Linked DNA regions of Homo sapiens: region 2 is linked to region 1. The links are contacts of gene promoters, found by promoter capture Hi-C in human tissues and cell types (Jung and others, 2019). All regions are on one chromosome and are shown on one strand. Each heading gives the region's core, a stretch centred on a gene start or on the middle of the fragment in contact. The rest is flanking DNA. Distances are from core to core; before and after follow the strand shown.

Region 1 (4,529 bases), core at 2,030-4,529:
GCACTACAAAGTGACGCAGGTGTCTGCCAAGACTTTCCTTCTCCAAAAAATGCCAGTCTTCACCCTTTCCAGCGCGCCGGCGCTGCGCCTCTGCTTGACCGGGGAAAGAGAGAGTTTGGAGGTGTCAGAACTGTCAGAACTCCGGATGGGAGGCTCTTGGTTCTGAAGCTGGGAGCTGGAGGCACTTCCCCCCAGAAGTGGGCACTTCTTTGCCTCCCCGAAGGCCTGATGGGGTGGGCACAGGGGAATGCCAGGGATCGGTGCGGGTGAGATGCTTGCCTCACCTCATGTTGACGCATCAATACTGGCTAGAAGCTCTGGGCAGGCTCTGGCGAGCCACGGTCCCCCAGCGGGACTCCCTCCACGCAGACAGCCCCGCTACCGGGTGGGACGACCCCGGCGGCCCCCGCGGGAACGCACCCGCCGGCCTGAGAGGTCCTCCCTCTGGCCACAGGGGGCGGAGGGTAGGGGGGAACAGGGGCCTGTGGGGAGGCGGGGAAAGGAGACAGAACCTAAAGCGCAATCCCCGCCGCCCCCCCGCGTCTTGGAGGGCAGCAAGTGGGCCTCGGGCGTGTTGGTAGCCGCAATTAAAATGGCGACCTGCGAGTTGTCTCGGTTTTGTACACACCTCTGGCAACCGCGCCCGCACCTCAGTCTCGGCCCCCACACCCCTAGGCCGCTTCGCCCCCAGAGCCGGTACTTGGCAGAGGGAGTGAGGCTCCCCACGAGGTAGAACAGCACCCCCACCTTCCTTGAGACCAGTCCAGAGAGAACGAGGAAATCTCACTCTCACCCCTCTCTCCTTAAACTTTGAAAACTCGGCCTCATTCTGGGGTTGAACTCCCCTCCCCAAATATTGACACATGGGAAGCAGCCAAGTCCTTTTTGTTTTTTGTTTGTGCGGAGGAGTTTCCAGGAGTCTTTCCCGGAGCCCCCTTCCCCACCCAATGACGTCAGTGGCATTCACTCCTCGCTCCTTGCCTTTTCTGATTTTTTGTTAAAACTTTTCTCCGCAGCGAGATGGGGGTTGGAGGGGTGGGAGAAGGAGCTGATTCAAAGAGCCAGTGCCCTGGGGGGAAATAGCAACAAGATTACGGCTGCTTCTTTCCGAGGCAAAGCTTAAGAAGGTGCTAATCCACTCGGTCGCTAATTGAGAGGTTGTAAAAATGATACTCGCCTCCAGTTCGGACAGAATCACTTCCCCCCCCCCCGCCCCCCCGCAAGTCCCTCGCTCATGCACAGCGGACTTGAGTCTTGAGTCCAAGCTTCTTTAATGCTCGCTTGGAAAGTAAAAGGAGAGAGAAAGAGAAAGCCGACTTTCGCTGGTCTGGGACTCAGGGCCGCGGCCCCACTTGCCGGCATCCTCCGAAAGTCGCGCTCCTGCGAAATGAAACCTCGCCCAGGAGGCCGCGGACCTGGACACCCGGCGCCACCTCCTTCACCTCTGACCCAGGTTTCCTCCCGGCGCTGCGAGCTCCCGGGGAAGGGTTAGAGCCGGCAGCCCTCCCCAGCCCGGGGAGGGGAGAGGGTTATGCGACCCCACCTCTGGCTAGGGCCGGGGAGGCCTTTGCTTCCCGGGAGCCCTGCCCGGGCTCCTTGGTCGCAGGGCTGCTGGGTCCCAGGCAGGAACGAGAGGGTGAGGCCCACATGTGGCCCGGCGGCCCAGGGCGGCTTGCAGCGTCCTCACTGTCCCGGCTGCCAGGGGCTGCGGCGACGCGGCCAGTCAGCAGCGAGTTCAGGTCGCGCAGATTTTATTGATGAGCTCTGACTTTCAGCACTTTCCCTAAGTCAAGAAGAGTCTAGCGTACCCTTCGGCTGCTTCATTTCAGCCTCCCTGCCTCAGCTCTTCAGCCCTATTCCCCCTCGCCCTGTCCTGGGGTGTGTACAGCAGCCCAGGCCTTCCTTCTCCTTCCCGGCTCCGTGGCCCGAAGCCGCCGAGAGAGCTCGGGACAGCGCAGGACCAGGCAGCCGCTCGCTCTCCTGTCACCTTAACTGCAGGCTCCGAGGGGCGCCTTTGGAGTGTACTGAGGTGTGTCCTAATCGTGCGGCATTCAACAAATGGACTTCTGGTGTGTGGTCAGAAGAGAAAAGCCATTTACTTACTTTCCTCCCCGGTTTTCTGGCAACAGCTGAAGGGGAGCTGCCTCCGTGGACTGAGCAGACCCAGGAGAGGGAGTCGTGGTGCGGAGACACACGCACCACACACAGATGACCGGTGGCACACACGACACACGCTGACATACCGACATCGCCAGTGGGACACACACACACACACACACACACACACACACACACACAGAGAGAGAGAGAGAATCCCTCCCAGCATTGGTCATCCGCCCCCCCACCCAGGCTTCCACTCCCCCTCCCCTCTTATCTCCCCTGGCTTCCCCTCCTCTCGGGCGCTGCGAAAAGCAGCCGCACTTAGTCAACAAATGGCACGTGGGAGAAGTTGGTGAGTGTTTGGTGAGGACTCTTCAGGGCTTTTCACAAGAACCCTCTGTACACAAAGTAAGTGGCGTGTTTACTCGGGCCTCTCCAGCCAGAGCTGTGCCTCTGCTCCGCTGCGCACCGCGGCTTCCGAAAGGAGAAAGGAGAGAAGAAAGGGCGGGGAGAGCGGGGTGGAGGATTTGGACAGGCCCTGGAGGCTTGGGCTGGGGAGGCCTCTGGCCTCGTTTAGTTCTCGGCCCGGCAACCTCCTCTCGGCCTAGGCTTCGCCGCGGCCTCCGCAGCTGGAATGGAGCTGCCAGGACCCAGTGACGCTCCCGCCCCTTTCCTCTTCTTCCAAGGGGCCAGGTGGGCTGGGGTGCGGCCGCCGCTGTGCTCTGTGTCTTGGGGCCCCGGCTGGGATGGGGTGGGGGCGGGCGGGGGCGGGGCGGCAGGCCACGCTGTCCTGGAGTTGGCAAGAAAGGACAGCACAGAAACTTGCACCCTCCGAGGACTGGGAGTCCCGAGTCCAGCTTAGGGGGAGTGGGGGCGCGACCCCCAACCCAGAAACCTTCACTTGACCGCTCAAGTTCGCGGCAGCAGGGCGGGCCGCGCCGAATCTCGGCGTGCGCGGAGCGGGGAGATGCAGGCGAGCGCCAGAGCCCGGGCTCGGGGGCCCTGCGCCGGGGAGAGGAGCCGGGACCCACCGGCGGAGCCGAAAACAAGTGTATTCATATTCAAACAAACGGACCAATTGCACCAGGCGGGGAGAGGGAGCATCCAATCGGCTGGCGCGAGGCCCCGGCGCTGCTTTGCATAAAGCAATATTTTGTGTGAGAGCGAGCGGTGCATTTGCATGTTGCGGAGTGATTAGTGGGTTTGAAAAGGGAACCGTGGCTCGGCCTCATTTCCCGCTCTGGTTCAGGCGCAGGAGGAAGTGTTTTGCTGGAGGATGATGACAGAGGTCAGGCTTCGCTAATGGGCCAGTGAGGAGCGGTGGAGGCGAGGCCGGGCGCCGGCACACACACATTAACACACTTGAGCCATCACCAATCAGCATAGGTGTGCTGGCTGCAGCCACTTCCCTCACCCACACTCTTTATCTCTCACTCTCCAGCCGCTGACAGCCCATTTTATTGTCAATCTCTGTCTCCTTCCCAGGAATCTGAGAATTGCTCTCACACACCAACCCAGCAACATCCGTGGAGAAAACTCTCACCAGCAACTCCTTTAAAACACCGTCATTTCAAACCATTGTGGTCTTCAAGCAACAACAGCAGCACAAAAAACCCCAACCAAACAAAACTCTTGACAGAAGCTGTGACAACCAGAAAGGATGCCTCATAAAGGTGAGTCCGCTTCTTTCTTCTCGCTTTATTTTTATTGCAATATTCAGACAGGTCTCCCCCTTCCTCCCCCCTTCCTTCCTCCCCTCTCGCCGGTCCCCTCCCCCACTGCTACGCCGGGAGAGTTGGGCCGGAGAAGTTTCCACGCAGGAGCCCAAACTTTCTACTTCCAGCGAAAGCCCGCGTCGGAGGGCGACTGCCGGCGAGCGGGAGCGGCGCAGGGCTCGGGGCGGGCGGCCAGCTCAGCCCCAGCGCCAGCGCCAGCGCCAGCGCGGGCTGAGCTCGCGGGAAGAAGGGAGACTCCAGGCGCGACAGCAGCCGCGGCTCCTAGCCCCAGCGTCGCCCAATGCTCCCGACCCGCGGGAAAAGACGAAGAGGCTCTGTGGTGCCCAAGGCCCTGGAACGGCCGCAGAGAGCAACCGCTGCCGGCTGCTTTGTCCAGCCCGAGGCCCAGCGAACGCGCAGAGAGCGGGCGCTCCGAGGACTCGCCGAGGGAGCGCCGAGGGAACCTGCTCGCCGCGTCTCCGCCCGCCCGCCGGCCCTCGGGCTTTGTGCCGCACTGGGCTCCGGCGCAGAAGAGTCAGCCGGCACTCGAGCGCCGAGGGGGGCACCGCGCCCGCCACCAGCCCGAGTGGAGTCAGTCGGCAAGGCAGCCGCACGCTGGAGGTAGAGGGAAGAGCGAGCTAGCGCGAGCCGGGAAGGAAGCCACCAGGCCAAGGCGGTGGAACGCGCGCTCCGAGGGAGCTCAGAGCCGAGCGG
Region 2 (4,603 bases), core at 2,024-4,523, 48 kb after region 1:
ATTTCTAAAGTACAATACTGACAAGTTTTGCTATTTAATAAATGATGAAAAAATGAGTTTTTCCTTTAGAAATATATCAAGTAGTGGCATTTTTTCTTCTGTTTTTCATTAAGATAGCTTATGTGCTAAAGGGATATTAGTTGCTCTAAAATCAGTTTAAGCAAATACATCAAACATTTACCCAATCAAATATTTGTAAATTACAGAGTATATTACAAACACTTAGTAGTTCTGTTTCTAAATGAAAAATTATAACAGGCATCTTCAATTATATATTTATTTTCATTATATATTTATTTTCAGGTAACACTAGTATCTATAGGTGTTTGCATCCTAAATCTATTACCTGTCTTGTATATTTCAACAGTCTATCTTAAATATCTTACAATTTATTTCTCTGTAACTAAATATTAATATTTCACACAAAATGATCATTGATCATGTTGTAAAATCATGAGTCAAAACATCATCTGAAAAGTTCTGAAAAAAATAAAAATGGGAACATGTTTCTTGCTTCTAAACTAGCCAAAACCATTTCCAAACTTATGTCAATTCAAGGGACTCAGTAATACTTACACTATATTCCAACACCCTGAAACCATATGTATTTATCTTACACTAATAAAGGTACTACATGGCAAACATGTTAACAGGTAGATATACAACTAGAACTGCAATAAGGACCGGTTTTAGTTACTATTACTTTATCAGAAAAATATACTTATTGCCGTTATATTTCCGTGGTTATTGTTTTCTTTTTTATTCAGATATAAAATATCTCTTTAGGTTGGTTTATTATATAAAATACAATGCAAAGCAAACTGTTCACATGCATAAGAACTGGGTTTAATCTGTATTTAAAATATTAATGTACACATTTTTGATTCCCTAACAATTTTTTTCTAAATTAAAGACTTTAAAAAATAGATGAAGCACCACACAGAAGATGAACAGTCACAGTTTATAAACTACTCTGTATGTGCTTTTCATATTTATTCCCAATGTATTAATGGGAAAAAAGAATATTAACTTTTTGTAAAAAGAGAAATAAGTCTTTTATTAGGAGTTAATTCTCTTGGAAATGAGTAATAAATTATTTCAGATATTAATGATGGTAGCCAAAAACAAACAAAAAGCCCACTACATGTTATTTCTTAATAAATGTTTTTAAATAAATCAGGCTAAGAACAGTTTTTAAGTAACACTAATTTATGAGGTATCACTAATGCTCTAAAATATTATGCAGATTAATATTTAGTTAAAATATATACTACTTAAATAGTATTTCCAGAAAATGAGCAATGGATCTTAATTGTCCAGGGGATCTATTGTTGCACTCTATTTATTTATATGATAGGAAGTCTTAAATTCTTTCGTTGTAATTTTACAAATTTTTACAAATACAACTCATCTCTTTGATAAAGATGCTACTTATAATAAAAGTAAAGTCAATGATTACTCATATTATATCCAGCTTAAGATTTTGGTAGTTGCCCTGTTAATCTGATAGAAAATATTGATTAGAATGTATCCAAATATTAAAAAGAGTCTGTTTAACTTATAAAAAATGTCTACTTGGTTAGGTTGCATTAGGGCATTTTAAGGCAGAGCAAATATGAACTGATATCATCTATCAGTGTTTGTAAATATCACTAACATTCACGATGATATTGCAGAGGCATCATAAGGAGCAATGCAGCACCAAAGTGTATGCTTTTGGTTGTACTGTATACAATTTTTTTTTGTTAAAAAACTTTTAACAGTTAAATTTTAGAATAAGGTCACTTCTTCTAACAGCTTCATACCCATTACCATAACAGAGTATTTCCAAAACCATAAACAGTTTTTCATGGTGATGAATAAAAAACAGATTTTGCTGGGAAACTGTTCCTGAATCTAATAATTATCCTCTTCATCCTCTTAATTCAGTCTTAGTGTTTTGCTGAGGAGTGGGATGGGTGCCAGTAGCAGTCGTCAGGGGGATTACGGTTATATGAGTCTCCCATCAGGAGGCCAAGCAGCCTGCAATTACTAAAGAGCGGTCCTTTTGATTTAAAGGAAAAGTTTCAGAAATGGACTAAAACGTTGAATAATACACATGATTAGTAATTTGTAGCTGTGGATCAGGGGTTCCCCTCTACCAGAAGTGTTTGTTGAAAAAATAATAAAACCGACACCTGTGGGGAGTTTTAGTATTTCATTTTTCTCTTGATTCAATGGAAGTTCTACAAAACTATTACAGCTCTGGGAGGACCCAACCAGGCTCTGTAATCACCTTCAGAAAATTTATCTGTATATTCCATTGTGGTAAAGCACTGAATAAAATCTTTTCAAGCAGCATCTTTTATATGATGCCCTGGATTTTTAAATGAAAATGGGGGTCAAATTCTCTCATTTTCCTTACAAAAGAGTGAAAAGAACAACTGTGCGGCCTTGATGGCCGCACCAGAAGGTGATTTGATAAAAGGCGGACTCTGGGTGAATGCTGGACTCACATCAATGCCTTATTGTGAGTGCTCCCTGAGACAAATGAGCACTGGCTACGATTTAAGCTGTGTAATTAAATTTCACACAATATGAAGCAGCAAATGACATGTAAATTATGAATGGCCTATTCCTTACTTTCCATGACAGTGTTAAATAAGGGAGGTGTAAGTGAAATCATTAGATTATACTGGTCGGCAGAGACTTTCAAAGGTTGTCTTCAAGCACACACAGCTAGTTTGGCACAAACGATGTACTCTGAGACTATTTCAAACGGTGTCAGGACAATAAGTAACCAGCCTTTAATTGTGTTTGTCCACCTAGGTATAAAATAGACATTATCGCAATATTGTATCGCACACCAAGATGCTCGGGTTTTACCTAAAGTATGACATGACTGGACACCCACTGCAGCTTCCTTGTTTTAGCTGCAGTGAACATAAATATAAACTGGGATTCCTTGAAAGAGATATAAGAAAATACTTACAACTTTAAAAAAATTAGAAACTTCATTTCTGACAATAAAGCTTATTATCAATAACTATAGATTTTCGGTTTAAAGAATAGCCATGACTTATGAAAATAATAATGCAATCTTCCAATTTAAAAAAAAAATAAATGAAGCCCCATGGGCTACCTGTGCACACCTACACAAAAGACTTGGAAAATGACATTGAAAACTCATTTCTTTAGATGTCATATAACATTAAAATAAGTCAGACAGAGAACAAGTTAGAGAAAGGCTTAAAAAAAAAAGGTACCATTCTGAACACCAAATTCTACTTAGTAAAGTACTCATGTTGGTTGCAGTTTTAGCTGTAAAGTTTAATCTTTGGTAAAAAGGTGATTAAATAGCAGTATGTGAACACCTTAAACTATCATCCCTTAACATTCCCTTCTTAATGAGAACAAATCCCTCTTTCAGTAGAAGCTTTAGCTGAAAAAAGGGAAAGCCCATACCCTTTGCAAGGAAGCTCATTAAAAATGTGGAATGCTGTAAAGAACCTTCTCCCCATGCAGAGTCTTTCTGCTTGAGTAAGTATGAGAAGCCTGGAGGATAAATGTTCCTCTCTTGTCTCAAGTAGTTGTCTTGCACCCACTGCCTCAGAGAAAAGAGACACAACTTGTTAGTCAACAGTAATTTTGAAGGGATGGAGAAGGATTAGAGGGGGAAAAAGCTAACATCTCATTTTCTTTCTCAATTGTGTATCTTTTTAAAAGCACAGTGAACTCATCTATCCTAAATATTTGCAACAAATCAAGCGACAGGAAAGGGCTTATATTTGGATATTTTTAAGAATGCATATTTTCAATGGCTATCCTTAAAGGATATTTGTTTTTCATCACAGATATTTTAACAGTGACATGTTAATTTTAAAATGGTCATCTAATTTAAATGATATGCTTTTTTTTTTTGCTCATTATACAGAATTGCATTTAAAGAAGCCAAATCTTGAGTAGAAAAGTTTACATCTGAGCTTACTTATCTTTTGTTATTATTTAAAGTACTTTTGTTTTTATTCAATAATAGCCCATAAATAGCTATAGGGAAAACTGCTCATTTCTATATTTAATACTTTCCTATATATAATATTCAAGGTATAAAATCTGTATCAGGTTGATCATTATTTATATTATATTGCACACTGAAAAAAATTATTTTTCTATAAAAAATTCCAATAAGCACACTTATCTGAAGTACTTTTAGAGCTAAATAGCTGTTTAAAAAATATATCTTAAGACATAAGAAATTAGAGCTGAATAAACTATATGGCAAATTAATATATAAAAAAATCTATATTTTAGCTAAGAATGCCTTCTAGTTAATTATTTAAAATTAATCATACATATGATACATGAGCTGTAAATAATCATAGCTAAATATACTTAAAAATGACTGTAATCTACAGGAAGAACATACATTTGTCTATCAAAATGCAAAATATAAAACCAAAATTACTTCTGACTTAAAAAGAGAAAGTGAAAAGATTCTTATTGTAGAAAGTCTTTATTTTAATAAGTATTTTTGAAGTCTAAAGGTTATTTTTTAAAAATTTAAAAATTTACATTTTTTAAACTCTATCATTTAATTTCAAGTTCTTTCGAATAAAATGTAGAT

The links. Contacts are between HindIII fragments. The study calls those that stand out against the background at their distance.
Region 2: a contact is called between a fragment that was not itself captured here and the fragment with the promoter of PAX6 in region 1, in 1 of the 25 tissues and cell types used here (hippocampus).

What each region holds. Positions count from the first base shown.
Region 1 is chr11:31,810,072-31,814,600 of GRCh38, reverse strand. PAX6 (paired box 6) reads left to right here and starts at 3,279. Exons shown (of 14, transcript NM_001368894.2): 1 at 3,279-3,486; 2 at 3,586-3,773. RefSeq lists a silencer at 1-224, enhancers at 1,068-2,036, 3,384-3,441, 3,144-3,713 and a promoter at 3,087-3,496. The HindIII fragment of the contact is 12,830 bases long and covers 1-4,529 here.
Region 2 is chr11:31,762,391-31,766,993 of GRCh38, reverse strand. All of the region lies in intron 9 of ELP4 (elongator acetyltransferase complex subunit 4), which reads right to left. The region is part of intron 2 of ELP4-AS1 (ELP4 antisense RNA 1); the gene reads left to right. Among named protein-coding and RNA genes, the nearest start is that of ELP4-AS1, 3.2 kb to the left of the region's middle. RefSeq lists enhancers at 1,685-3,246, 3,259-3,965, 1,685-3,983. The HindIII fragment of the contact is 3,665 bases long and covers 1,441-4,603 here.